5 separate regions of the Homo sapiens genome follow, and all the other regions are linked to region 1. The links are contacts of gene promoters, found by promoter capture Hi-C in human tissues and cell types (Jung and others, 2019). All regions are on one chromosome and are shown on one strand. Each heading gives the region's core, a stretch centred on a gene start or on the middle of the fragment in contact. The rest is flanking DNA. Distances are from core to core; before and after follow the strand shown.

Evidence for each region. Contacts are between HindIII fragments. The study calls those that stand out against the background at their distance.
Region 2: a fragment that was not itself captured here is called in contact with the fragment with the promoter of HUNK in region 1 in 4 of the 25 tissues and cell types used here (dorsolateral prefrontal cortex, hippocampus, lymphoblastoid cells and 1 more).
Region 3: a contact is called between a fragment that was not itself captured here and the fragment with the promoter of HUNK in region 1, in 1 of the 25 tissues and cell types used here (dorsolateral prefrontal cortex).
Region 4: a fragment that was not itself captured here is called in contact with the fragment with the promoter of HUNK in region 1 in 1 of the 25 tissues and cell types used here (lymphoblastoid cells).
Region 5: a fragment that was not itself captured here is called in contact with the fragment with the promoter of HUNK in region 1 in 1 of the 25 tissues and cell types used here (thymus).

What each region holds. Positions count from the first base shown.
Region 1 is chr21:31,871,656-31,874,355 of GRCh38, reverse strand. HUNK (hormonally up-regulated Neu-associated kinase) reads right to left here and starts at 1,336. Exons shown (of 11, transcript NM_014586.2): 1 at 421-1,336. The coding sequence starts at 681. RefSeq lists silencers at 63-242, 1,169-1,218. The HindIII fragment of the contact is 17,092 bases long and covers 1-2,700 here.
Region 2 is chr21:32,326,191-32,328,890 of GRCh38, reverse strand. The region is part of intron 30 of URB1 (URB1 ribosome biogenesis factor); the gene reads left to right. Among named protein-coding and RNA genes, the nearest start is that of MRAP-AS1, 19 kb to the right of the region's middle. The HindIII fragment of the contact is 5,656 bases long and covers 1-2,700 here.
Region 3 is chr21:32,128,531-32,131,230 of GRCh38, reverse strand. No RefSeq gene overlaps it. Among named protein-coding and RNA genes, the nearest start is that of LINC00159, 44 kb to the right of the region's middle. The HindIII fragment of the contact is 4,896 bases long and covers 1-2,700 here.
Region 4 is chr21:32,345,356-32,348,055 of GRCh38, reverse strand. URB1 (URB1 ribosome biogenesis factor) reads left to right here. Exons shown (of 39, transcript NM_014825.3): 22 at 245-1,100; 23 at 2,481-2,682. Among named protein-coding and RNA genes, the nearest start is that of SNORA80A, 31 kb to the left of the region's middle. The HindIII fragment of the contact is 7,941 bases long and covers 1-2,700 here.
Region 5 is chr21:32,303,877-32,306,576 of GRCh38, reverse strand. The region is part of intron 1 of MRAP (melanocortin 2 receptor accessory protein); the gene reads right to left. MRAP-AS1 (MRAP antisense RNA 1) reads left to right here. Exons shown (of 2, transcript NR_187556.1): 2 at 1-113. Among named protein-coding and RNA genes, the nearest start is that of MRAP-AS1, 3.5 kb to the left of the region's middle. RefSeq lists a silencer at 1-119. The HindIII fragment of the contact is 9,800 bases long and covers 1-2,700 here.

The sequences.
Region 1 (2,700 bases), core at 87-2,586:
AGCTTTCCTGCCCCCCCCGCCCCCCGACATAAGAGCCCACCTCCTCTAGCCCTGGTTCCCGCCTCGCCACGGATCCGCCGCCCCTGCCGGCCTGAAGGGCAGAGGGGCCCCATCCCGCCCCCCGCGCTAGTGTCGCCAGGCGGCGCCCTTCCACGAGCAGAACGGCCGCGCGGGACGCTTCCCGGGGCAAGGCCGTCCCCTCCCAAGCCCCCAACCCCCGGGCAGCGGACCGCAGGCCGCCTTCGGGAAAGGCTGCGAGATGCTGAGCGCGCGTTTTAACCCAACAGGAAAGCCGGGCGGAGGGGGAAGGCGCTTGGCCCGGGACTGCACACTGGGACTCCCAGTGCAGTGCTCCCCGCGGGGTCCTGGCCGCCGACTCCCGCCCCTGTGCCCCAGCCCCACGGCGCCCGGGAGACTCACCTTCTCCCCGGTCAGCACGTGCAGCCCCTCGCGCACCTTGGCAAAGGAGCCCTCGCCCAGCTTCCTGCTGCCGATGAGGTAGTTGCCCACGCGCTTGTGGTGCTGGAAGTCGCGGAGCCGCTCGCGGGGCACGCCGCTCACCCAGGCAGGCAGGAAACTTCCCTCGCAGGCCGCCGCGGGCCTGGCCGCGTCCTCCGCGCCGCCGCCGCCCCCAGGCGCCGCCGGCTCCCCCAGGAGCCCGTCCCCCGCCGCCGCCGGCATCGCGCTCGCCGCGGCCCGCGCGGCTCCTGCTCGTCTCCCGCGCTCGCAGCTCCTCCTCCCCAGGCTCTTCGGCTTCCCCGGCTTCTCCCGCCGCCGCCCTGGGCCCAGCCCCGCCTGGGTCTCCGCACCCAGAGCCCGGGGCCGCCGCGATCACGCCCCCCGCGCCGCCCAGCGAGGCGCGTAGACAATAGCGGCTGCCCAGGGGACGCGGGACCGGGGACCCCGCCCCCAAAAGTTCTTCCTCTTAGGGTCGCCCGGGCCCCTTTCAGGACACCAGGATCCCGCCCCGGGTCCCGTCCAGGAAGCTAATGACAGTCGCCCTGCTCGGGCGCGCGGGGTGGGGCGCGGTCCGGCGGCGCCTGGGTCCCGGGGTCCGGGTGCCTGGGTCCGGGAGCCCGGGTGCCTCCGCAGCCTCCGCCTCGCCGCCGCCGTCTGGCCCGCACGGGCTTGGGTCGGGCTCCCGCGATCGCTCCTAGCCGTGCGCTGGGCGGCCGCTCCCGCCGGAGAGAAGCGCGCGGCGGGCTGCCGGCGCCCTCTGGAAGGCAGCAGAAGAAAGCCCCATTCAGTTTGAATTTGCAGAAATTTAATCCGCTCGCGGGCGGCGGGAACAGATGCGAGCTCCACTCCGCAGCCCGTGCACTTTCAAATCCCTAGTAGCCCCTCCTTCCCCGCGCGCCACAGTCAAACTCGACCCTCGCTGGAGAGGGGAGGGCCCGGGGAGGGGAGCGGCGGAGTGGACGGAGAAGCCACCTGAGCGCCAGACAGGGAGAACCTGCGCGGCCTCGGAGGCGCGCGCTCCCGGGCCGCCCAGGTCGGGCCGCCTCCGGCTGCGCCTCTTGCCCGGATTCTGGGCTTGGGTTTTCTGGACCTTTCGGCGGTGAAATCCCCCACTGGCCGCACCCACCCGGGGCGGGGGGAAGGGGGAAGGCTCTCGAACTCCGTGGACTGTGAGTCGGGTTGCGTGCCCGGCCCTGAGTCCGCCACACAGTAGGGCCCCCTGGACCGGGGGTGGAAGGATAGATGGATGGCTGGAAGAAAGGGTGGGGAGGCGGCCAGGCGTCTGCCCGGGCTCGCACGCAGCCTGGTTGGCTGTGTTGGAGGAGGCGCAGCCACAGCAGTAATAGTAGCAGCAGCAATGTAGGAACCAGGGCGTTTGCTGCCTCTGCTTGTAGCTTACACCTTCTTTGCCTTCCATTGAAATGATGCCTGTGATTGCAGGAGGTGGACCGGCGCTCGCCTCTCTTCGATGCTTTTGTTCTGCAAGCGCTGTGACTGTGCTCATCGCATAAACAATTGCAACTGCCCTGACGACACTGGACCCTCTCCCAGGATCCCCAACGTCTTCTCAAACCGAAAATGAAGAATCTTGTGAGGGAGAAGGAGGAGGGTAGGTAGGAGGAGGCATTTACAAAATGCTACCTGTTGAGGTGCCCGCATTTGATGGAAACTTCACCCCGATCATGCAACATCAGAGCTGAAAGGAAGGATTTGGTCCTAACAAAGTTCCTTTCATTGTTTATTCCTGAGTAAACAAGTATGACATCGACCCATAGCAATGCTTTGAGATTGGGAGTGGGGGGTGGGGGAACAACAGCTGTCATCAATCCAGTGTCTGGGGGTCTCGCTGACCCATCTGAAGAGGGACGCAGAGAAATGCCTGCTTTCAATACATCTAATTTTAAATACGCTACTATATTCATCCACCTACCTGTTACAAGTCACCAGCCTCAGTTATTATGACGGAACATACTGCGTTTTCTGTTGTTCTGTCTCATTGTTCCCGTTTACCAATATTAAAGATACAGCTTAAAATGTTTTTCTTGCTGTGCTGAAGGGACTTCTTTGCTCCCACCGGCCTTGACTATTTCAGTAACGTTCATTCAATCCTTTTAATGTCTCTAATTCAGTAATCAAATCTTAACAGGACAGTTGCATGGGAGGGGAATGGTAACTAGCGTGGTGCCAGCAGAATAGATGTCCAGCAACTGTCTAAAGAATGAGGAATATGGAGCTCACTTT
Region 2 (2,700 bases), core at 54-2,553, 450 kb before region 1:
GAGGTTCTTGAAACAAAGAGAATGGCATTTATAACTATTTTTAAATAGCCTATCATGTTTTCAGCATTCTGAGGGCGGCTCTTTTCCATAAGTGTTACAAAGCCAAGATTTTCATAGAGTAGCAGAGATGAGCACAAAACAGGAAACTGACTTTTCCTCATGGACACGTGGAAAATCCATTTGTCTTAGAATGTCAGTGATTACTAAAAATATCCCAGCCAGCTGAGTATTAGCTGCTTTTAGTGAGTATAAACTAAATGTTTAGACTTTTCTCTTTCCCAAATGTATTCCATTTACCTATATTTGTTATGTACTTATGTAGGTGTCTCTTAAACACATTTCTTCCATCTTTTGTAAAACAATATAATTGTATCTAGTTTGGTGCTTTTAAAGCTTTTGGATTTCTTTTTCCCTCTTATCAAAAACAGTCACTTGTGAGAAATAAGAAAATTAGGCTGGGCACGGTGACTCATTCCTGTAATCCCAGCACTTTGGGAGGCCAAGGCGAGCTGATCACTTGAGGCCAGGAGTTTGAAACCAGCCTGGCCAACATGGTGAAACCCCGTCTCTACTAAAAATAAGAAAATTAGCTGGGCATGGTGGCACATGCCTGTAGTCCTAGCTACTCAGGAGGCTGAGGCACAAGAATCGCTTGCACCCGTAAGGTGGAGGTTACAGTGAGCCAAGATTGTGCCACTGCACTCCAGCCTGGGCGACAAAGGAGACTCTGGCTTTAAAAAAGTAGAGATAAGAGAATTAGAAAATTTTGTTCCTAAACTGCTATGCCCAAGAGTCATCTGACTATGCTCTTTTCATCCTTTCACTTTTAGTCTATGTCTTGATATTGAAAATGGGTTTCTTGAAGGCAGCATGTACCTAGGTTCTGCTTTTTATCTAATCTGACCATCTCTGCCTTTTATTTTGGAGTGCATACATCATTTATATTTAATGTGATTATTGATCTGACTCTATTTTATCTCTTGTTGACTTTTACCTGCAACTTTTGTATGTGTATGAGTGCATGCATGCATATTTTTACTGGTTGCTTTAGGGTTTATAGTACACATCTTCAATCTATTATAGTTTATCTTCAAGTGAGATGATACCACTTCATGTATAGTATAAGGACCTTGTAACAGTATAGATCCATTTCCTCCCTTCTGGCTTTTCTGCTATTCTTGTCATGCATTACATTTCAGTATGCTATAAACCCTACAATATAGTGTTGTTTTTGCTTCAAATTGTCATTATTTCTAAAAGAAGTGTAAATATTTGATATTTGCCATATTGTTACCATTCCTTTGTGTAGATCTAGATTTCTATCTGGTATCATTTTTCTTCTTCCTAAAATACTTCCTTTAAGAATTCTTATTGTTCAAGTCTACTGGTGACCAATTGTTTTAGCTTTTTTGTGTCTGAAAAAAGTCTTAACTTTTGAAAGATTTTGATACTGGTGACCAATTGTTTTAGCTTTTTTGTGTCTGAAAAAAGTCTTAACTTTTGAAAGATTTTGATGGGGTATAAAATTCAAGGTTGACAGTTTTTTTTCTTACAGTACTTTAAAGAAGTTGCTCCTCTGGTTTCTGAATTGAGTTATTTCTGACAAGAAATCTGCCATTCTTATCTTCATTCTTCTGTATGTCATGTGGCTGCTCTTAAGATTTTTTTTAAATCACTGGTGTCAAACAATTTGATCACAATGTGCTTTCGTGTGATTTTCTTTTATATATAAATATATATGCTTTATTTGTGATGATGCTTGCATGATATTCTTAATGTTTTATGTTTTGAGTTTCTTGGCTGTCTAGGTTTATAGTTTTTTTTGGTCAGATTTCAAAAAGTTTTGGCCATTATTTCTTCGGATTTTTTTCAGGGACCCCCTATTACACATACCCACAGGACACTGATGTTCTGTTCATATTTTTCCTCTCTGTGTTTTCAGCTTGGATAGTTTCTATTGCTGTCTTAAGTTCGCTAATCCTTTTTGGTCTAGTGTCTAATCACTGATAATCCCATCTCTATTGGTCCATTCTTGCACTGGTATAAAGAACCCGAGACTGGATAATTGATCAAGAAAAGAGGTTTAATTGACTCATGGTTTCATAGTCTGTGTAGGAAGCATGGCTGGGGAGGCCTCAGGAAACTTTCAATTATGGTAGAAGGCAAAGGGAAAGCAGGCACATCTTACATGCCAGAGCAGGAGGAAGTGGGGCAGTGCCACACGCTTCTAAACAACCAGCTCTTGTGAGAACTCACTAGCATGAGAACAGCAAGGGGAAATCTGCCCCGAGATCCAATCACCTCCCACCGGAGTCCCCACCTCCAACATGGGGGTTTGTAATTCAACATGAGATTTGGGTAGGGCCACAAATCCAAACCATTTCACCATCCAATGCATTTTTCAGCTCAGATATTTTAGTTTTCATCTCTAGAAGCTTGGTTTTGGGTTTTTGTATCTTCTGTGTCCCTGCTTAAAATGCTTTATCTTTCTTTAACTTTTAAAAATGTCATCAATGGACTATCTCTTATTGATGTTATATTCCATGATTACTCATTTGGAGTAGTCATTTCAGTTGGCTTGTGTTTGGTTCCCAATTAGGCCACTGGTCACTCTATCTCGAGAACATCATTGTGGATAATTATCATGATCAGTTTAATCATTAATAATTAATTCCTATTCTAAGGTTCTTCTTGACAGTA
Region 3 (2,700 bases), core at 96-2,595, 260 kb before region 1:
GAACGGGAAATGCAAGTCTTTCCTCAGGCCTGGGGGAAGCGTGTAGACTAAACAAGTAAAACAGGAGTATGGTGGTGGGGAATAGGAGAGTGGTTACAAACGTGGCCCTTGGTGTCAAACAGATCTAAATTCAAGTTCTGCTATTGCCATTTATTAGCTAGGCGTAGCAGTTATATACTTTTGTGTAACAAACCACCCCAATGTTTCGTGGTTTGAATTAACAACCATGTATTTGTTCAAAAATTCTGCAGTTTGGATGGGACTCAGTTGGGAGGCTCCTCTGCCGGTCTTTGCAGGGGTTACTTGTGTGGCTGCAGCGAGGGCTGGCAGGTCCCAGGGGGAATGTCTAGAATCACTGGGACAGGTGGGCCTCTTTCTCCATGTGGTCTTTTCTCATCCTGGTCTCTCATGTGAGAAACATGTGAAGACAAGGTTTCTTCCCATGGTGGAGGGAGGGACCATTCCAAAAAGGGAAGCCCCTTTATAAGTGCACGTGCATTTATAAAGCCTTTGTTTGCATTACATTTACTGATGTCCCATTGGCCAAAGCAAGTCACATGGTCAAGTTCTGAGTTAATATGGGAGGGAGGGTGAATTATAGAAGGATATAGATACTGGGAGGTGGAATTCACTGGAGATCATTAATATAATAATATACTGGCAGCCCGGGGCAAGCTTTTAATTTCTCCAAGTGTTGGTTTTCTGATCTGTAAAATGAAAATAATCTTCGATGTATTACTTGGAAATAGGCTGGATCCATGTCATGAAAAACTCCAACAAAGTATGGTGTGAAAAACTGAGGATTTTTTCCCCCTCATGCGACATGATATCTGGGTTTGGCATTTGGTAGTGTTTAGTTCAGAGGCTAAATAATATCATGGTGTAAGTCTCTGTAATTCTCTTGGCTTTTCCCTCATGGTAATAAGATGGCTGTAATAGTTCCAGCCTTCTCTCTCTCTTTCTTTTTCTCTCTCTTTTTCTCTCTCTTTCTTTTTCTTTTTCTTTCTTCCTTTCTTTCTTTCTTTCTTTCTTTCTTTATTTCTTTCTCTCTTTCTCTTTCTCTCTCTCTCTTTCTCACTCTCTCGCTCTTTCTCTCTTTCCTTCCTTCCTTCCTTCCTTTCCTTCTTTCTTTCTTTTTCTCTTTTTTTTTTTTTTTTGACAGAGTCTTGCTCTGTCACCTAGGCTAGAGTGCAGTGACACAATCTGAGCTCACTGCAGCCTTCACCTCCTGGGTTCCAGCAATTCTCCTGCCTCAGCCACCCGGTTGGCTGGGATTACAGGCATGCGCCACCATGCCTGGCTAATTTTTTGTATTTTTAGTAGAGATGGGGTTTCACCATGTTGGCCAGGCTGGTCTGGAACTCCTGACCTCAGGTGATCCACCCGCCTTGGCTTCCCAAAGTGCTGGGATTACAGGTGTGAGGCACCATGGCTGGCCTCAATGTCTTTCTAAGAGCCAGAAATGGGTAGAGCAAACAGCACAAGGTATGCTTCAGTGGGGACAGCCTTCCTCTGACAGAGCTTTCCCAGAAGCCCTATCCACTCACATCTCATTGGCCAAAACTGTGTCACATGGCCACCTCTAACTGCAAGGGAGTTTACGAAATATTATTTTTTAATATGGGTACATTGTTTCCTCTCCCAAATAAGATTCTGTTAGTAAAAAAGGAAGAGTGAAGTGGAGAATATGTATTGGGTAGGCATCTAGCGGTGACTGCTGCCCCCATGCCCACCTCACAAAGTTGCCATGTGCATAGTAGGTGCTCATTAAAGAGTAGCTGTTTTTTTTTTCTTTTTTTTAAATTCATTTGATAGCCTCTACTAGCTAGCTGGTCCATCTGTTTCCCTACCATATCTCTTCCCCAAGGAGCAGGAAGAGGGGGAGCTCTGAGTTGTCCTGCAACTCTTGTCTTCCTGGTATTCTACATGGTTCCTGTATCAGTTCATGATACCTACATAACAACCACCCAGAAACTCAGTGGGATAAAATAACAAGCATTGTTATTGCTTGCAAGTCTACAGGTAAGCTGGATGGTCCCTCTAGTTTCACCTGGGCTCATCCATCCATCTGAGGTTGGCTGAGGGTCAGGGAGGTGGCTCTGCTGATCTTGGCTGGGCTCTCTCACATGTTTGGGGATCAGAACTGCAAAGAAACATTGAAAGCAGTAGATACAAGGAAGGGTGAAGAATAGCAGACATTTTCATAATCAATCTCTCTCAGCTTCTATCTCATGTTTCGGGAGACCACAGTGCCCTGGCATCATGGAAGGACCCAAGAGATTCTGTTCTGTCAACCTTGGCCCACAGCAACCATGTGGAAAATCTGTTTCCTTATGAATTGTACCTCCTTGGTTGTCTTAGACAGCTTGGGCTGCTGTAACAGGTTACCATAAACTGGGTGGCTTATACATAACAGAAATTTATTTCTGATAGCTCTAGAGGCTGGGAAGTCCAAGATCAAGGCCCAGCAAATTCAGGGTCTGGCAAGTGCCCACCTCCTTGTTTACAGACGGCTGTCTCACTGTGTCCTCACATGGCAGAAGGGGCACAAAATCTCTAGAGTCTTTTTTAAAGGGAACAAATGAAGGATTTGCTCTCATAACCTAGTCACCTCCCAAATGTCCCATCTCCTAACCCCATCACATTGGGCATTAGGTTTCAATAAATAAATTTTGGGAAGGCACAAACATTCAGCCCACA
Region 4 (2,700 bases), core at 44-2,543, 470 kb before region 1:
GGGGCAGGTGGAGTGTCTCAGGCGATTGTGGTATAACTGGATGACAGCTCTGGCTGGGCTTGGCTGCGATGCCTTGGGCACCCCGAGGGGGGCATGGAAATGTAGGCTTGAGGATGGAATGGATTAGGAAAGGGGCCTTCTGCTCTCTGTCTCGCTAACAACAGTGAATACTTGCGTGGCAGCTGCCGCCCCTGTCTTAGCCCTGTGCTCTATGTGACGTCTGTGCCTCGTCACTGCCTTTCAGACGCTGGAGGAGGTGCTTGTGGCCATCCTCAGGCACCCCACCCTGGAGGGCTGGTTCCTGGCCCTGGAGCAGCAGGCCCTCCCGCCGCACACGCTCAGCCCTGTCCTCGTGAAGCTCCTGGCCACCCACTTTAGTGCAGGGGTCCTTCAGCTGCTGGCAGCAAGTGCCCCGATCCTCCAGAACATTGGGCAGCTGGGCCTTCTGGCCAGGTACTCAGAGGCCATCACCCAGAGTGTGCTGAAGGAACTTCAGAACAGGAGGGCGGGCCCGGCCACATCACCACCAAAGACCCCGCCGCAGCTGGAGGCCCTGCAGGAGCTGCATCCATACATGGAGGGTGCCCAGCTCCGTGAGGTCACCCTGGCCTTGCTGAGCCTGCCTGAGACACACCTGGTGACCCAGCAACCCACGAAATCCCCCGGGAAGGAAAGACACCTGAATGCTCTTGGAAAGACCCTGGTGCAGCTGCTGACCTGCAGCCCCCAGGATCAGCTGCAGAGTGGTGAGCTCCTGTGGTCCTCCGAGTATGTGAGAGGCCTGGGGGCTCTGCTGCCCACGCTAGCAGTGGACGAGCTGGACACAGTGCTCCTCCACACTCTGCAGAGAGACCCTGTGCTGGCCCCCGCAGTCGGGGCTGATCTGCTTGACTACTGCCTGGCCCGGCGCACACAGGCGGCCCTCAGCATCGCTGCCCTGCTCCTCCAGGAGAGCTGCACCCACTTGCTGTGGTTCGAGCAGTGGTGCCTGCAGGCTGGCCCAGGGCTCGGCCTCCAGGGGGACCTGGACGACTTCCTTCCCCTCATCCATGTGTACCTCCAGTGCAGGACACGGAGCCACTTCACACGCCCAGCAGGAGGTAAGGGAAAGGCTAGCTTTGGGCAGCTGGGGTCTTAAGTTGCACGGGCTAAGAAGGTGAACTGCATGGCCATTTTTAAACCCTAGAAATTCAGGTTCTGGGATGTGGGTTAGTTTCCAGTGTCTGACACAACTCTGAAGATGGAGAAAGGTGGAGTAATTCTCCCCAGTACCCTGTCTCCCTTCAGTCTCCCTACTTTGTGGCTTGAGGCACAGCCCATTGTGCCCCATCAGGTCTGAGTTCCCCCACATGAAGCTGGCGGGAGTTGGGTACAGTAGCGGGGGTTATTTAGGGCTGTCCTGTTACGTTGAAGGAGTTCTTGGGTGCCAATCCATCCCATGTCCCAGGGTTCCCTGCCCTCTGGGGAGATGTTGATGAGTTGATGTTGAGTCGAGGCAGCCTGGGTTCAGCTCTCTCTTCTGTCTCCACTCACTGGGTTTCAGAGCTGAGGCACTTTTCAATTACCCCAAATTTAATGTAATTCCCTTTTGTTGAATGCATGGGTGATTTTTACTCACCACTTTGCCTCTGTTTTGCATAACTTCCTATCATTGATGACAGAGGTTTTAAAAAGTAAGACAGTGCCCTGCAAGTCTTCTAGTCATAGTCCATTTAACATTGGTATAACGGAAGACCTGAGGATGAGTGATTTATAAAGAAAAGAGGCTTATTTGGCCCATGCGTCTGCAGGCTGTACAGGAAGCAAGGAGCTAGCGTCTGCTTCTTGTGAGGGCCTCAGGCTGCTTCCACTCATGGTGGAAGAAAAAGCGGAGCCAGCTCTGCAGAGATCACACGGCCAGAGGGGAAGCAAGAGGCACAGGAGGTGGCAGGCTCTTTTTAACACCTGGCACTCTGGGAACTAATAGGGTGAGCCAGAACTCATTCACTCTACCACAAGGACTGCACCAAGCCATTCATGAGGGACCTGCCTCCATGACCCAAACACCTCCCATTAGACCCCACCTCCAACACTGGAGATCACATTTCAACATGAGATTTGGAGGGGACAGACATCCAAACCATAGCAGCTACCCTCCCTATTCCATGGCTTTGAAGAATGAATCCCATATGAATTGAGAACCTTGGCACTCATGGTCTCATCATGAGCTTAGAAATAGCGTCTATAGCCAGGGCCCCCTGTGTTGAAGAGTATCCATCAAGAGTGTTGACTGATGAGATAGGGGAGGACCCTTGAAGGAGACAGGTGTGCCAGTTTCCATGGTGTCAGTACTCCTGCCGTGACCAATTTCAGGCCACCGGTGTGGCATCACCAGGGTCACAGGATACCTAAAATATAGCAACCAGTTCCTAGGAGCTGGTCCAAGCTGGCTGCAGCCCACCATTGGGTGTGATGACTTCTCCTTTGTATCTCTGCCCTAGTGTCTTCCGCTGTCATTCCTGTCTTGAGGAAGACCCTGTGGAGGCAGCTACAGAGCAGGCTTCTTAGCACTGACAGTCCCCCAGCATCTGGGCTGTACCAGGAGATCCTGGCACAGCTGGTCCCGTTTGCACGAGCCAAGGATCTCAGTGTACTCATGGACCGCCTGCCCAGCTTGCTTCACACCCCAAGCAGTCACAAGAGGTATGAAGGCTCAGGTTG
Region 5 (2,700 bases), core at 1-2,500, 430 kb before region 1:
AGTAAGGAGTCCCAGGGTATTGTGGAATGAGGGCCCTGAGTTTCGGTTGTCCTCCAGCCTCTCAGCTGTTACCATGGGGAAGATCTCCCATTAACAATAACTTTGGGAAAGAACAGGGGAGCCAAGAAGTGTCTTTTTCCTCAGGGCAGCTGGCCACGGGGTCTGTTTAGGGTGATTGTTAAGAGGAAACACTGAATGGAATTGTGTGCCCCCCCACCCCATGCATCTGCTTGCCCGGCTCCTAGTGGTGCTCAGAGGAACAGTCCTGAAGGATGGGAGGGAGAGGAGAGGGCTGTGGGCAGCTCTGTGTGTTAGGAAGGACTCCTGGGCCCCCGGGAGGGATGCAGCGCCTACCAGGGGCCGTTGGTGGAACAGCTTCAGAGACCCCAGGAGTTGATACCCTGCGGAGGATGTGCGCTGGGCTACAGCGCTCCGGTGGGGAGGCCCTTTCTGCTCTACGGGAGTTAGCCTAGGTCTGCTCATGCCTGGATCGGCAAGGTGGAAATAGCGAGTCCCTCTCTCAGGCAGGAAGTCTCATCTCAGGGGCTGTGGCAGGAAGGAAAAAGCACTTTTGCTACCAGCATGATGGCTGTATTTGTGGCCTGAGGCTGAAGGGGGAAAGGGAAACCAGGAAACACACTTAGCCCCCCTGGGGCCCTGGGTAGAACCTGGCTGGCCAGGAGGGGCCTTTTTCCTTCTCCAGGCTCCAGTTTGGGAATGTTAGGCCAGTTGCTATGGAACTACTTTCTAGCACGACAGTTTTTCTTGGTGGTTGTCTGTGGCTGTGGGCAATCCGGCTCGTAATTAGGGTCTGCAAGTGTCTTATCCCAGACCAACTGCGTAATGCCAAGATGTCACAAGCTGAGATATTCTAGACGCCTATGTGTGTGACCAAAAGGCGCTATTAGAGGATGATAACCTAACGAGAATTCATTGAGCGCCTTTTGCGAGGGACTGTTCAGGATTCAGAGGGGGCTAAACCAGCACATTAGAAATTGCTAACTCCCCTCATTCACCCACAATGTTCCACCCCCAACCTCCTCCTCCTCTGAACTTCTGCAGTGCTTCCAGCACTAACACTGTGAGTAAATGAATGAGAGAACGTGCAAACCACTGAAAGAATGAATAAAGTGAGAGTAATCTACATAGAGGCAGAGGTGGAGGCTCTGGGGTGAAGATTGGTATTTGAGTAAAGGATGTCATCTCTGCCATCTACGACCCCTGAGAGATAGCAGGAAAAACTGAGGACTCATAAGAGTTGATCTTGGACCCTAAAATGTAACATTAAAAACAGGGTATAATGGGCTGGGCACAGTGGCCCATGCCTATAATCCCAACACTTTGGGAGGCCAAGGTGGGAGGTGGATCACTCGAGTCCAGGAGTTCGAGACCAGCCTGGACAACATAGCAAGACCCCATGTCTAAAAAAAAATTTTTTTGATTACCTGGGCACGGTAATGCCCATAGTCCTACCCCTTCATGAGGCTGGGGTCGGAGGATCACTTGAGGCCAGGAGTTCAAGGCTGAAGTGAGCTACGATCACGCCAGTGTGCTCCAGCCTGGGCCACAGAGCAAGATGCTGTCTCAAAAAAAAAAAAAAAAAAAAAAAAACAACAAAAAAAACAAATCCCCCTCAAAACAGGGTATAATGAAAAGGCACAGTATTGGCGAAAGAATCATGAGCATCCATTGCCTTGTAATTCATCAGCAACTTGGCATTTACACTCCACGGGGGCAGGGACAGCAAAGACCCCCAGGCTGGCTCTCATGTCTCTCCTGTCTGTCTCCGAGCTGAGAAACTGACGCAGTCCCCTAGAGCAGGGAACTGTTTAAGAGCACCTCTGGATTCCTGGGGAAAGGGAAATGAGGTTGAACTGTGTGTCCTAAGCTTAAAAGGAGTTTTTTTGGTTTGTTTTGTTTGTTTGTTTGTTTTGTTTTGTTTTTTGTTTGTTTTTTTTTGTTTGAGACAGAGTCTTAATCTGTCACCAGGCTGGAGTGCAGTGGCACAATCTCGGCTCACTGCAACCTCCGCCTGCCGGGTTCAAGTCGTTCTCCCGCCTCAGCCTCCCGAGTAGCTGGGATTACAGGTGCCCACCACCACATCCAGCTAATTTTTGTATTTCTAGTACAGATGGGGTTTCACCATGTTGGGCAGGATGGTCTTGATCTCCTGACCTCATGATCCACCTGCCTCGGCCTCCCAAAGTGCTGGGGTTACAGGCGTGAGTCACCGCACCCAGCCAGCTTAAGGATTTTTGAAAGAAGCCTCTGACTCTCTTAGCCTTCCTTGCCCACCCCCTGTGCATTGTCCTACACTCCCGAAGAGTTACAATCTATTTTACAACCCTTACAGTAAAAGAGTGCATATGCTGTCAGAAAATGGGATTGGAAGTTTTATTCTGTAGGGATATTTTAGGTTTCTGCGGACACTAATGCTCTTTTTCCTTCCTAAAAATAGTGCAGGGTTTGAGGTCTTATAGCACCTACATAAATTCTACCAGGGATCTAAGGGAACAGCTTCAAACTCAGCACCTGAGAGCCCCTTTCTCCCAGACTGACACTTGTCTGAGTCCTTATCGTCATCCCCAGATATTGAGCAAGAAATAAGATGACAGGTTTCACAGAACGCAGTGTCTTCATATAAGTGGAGTTTAAGTTTTGTCAGACCAAAAGGCAATCGTCAGCCAATAGTCATTTTCT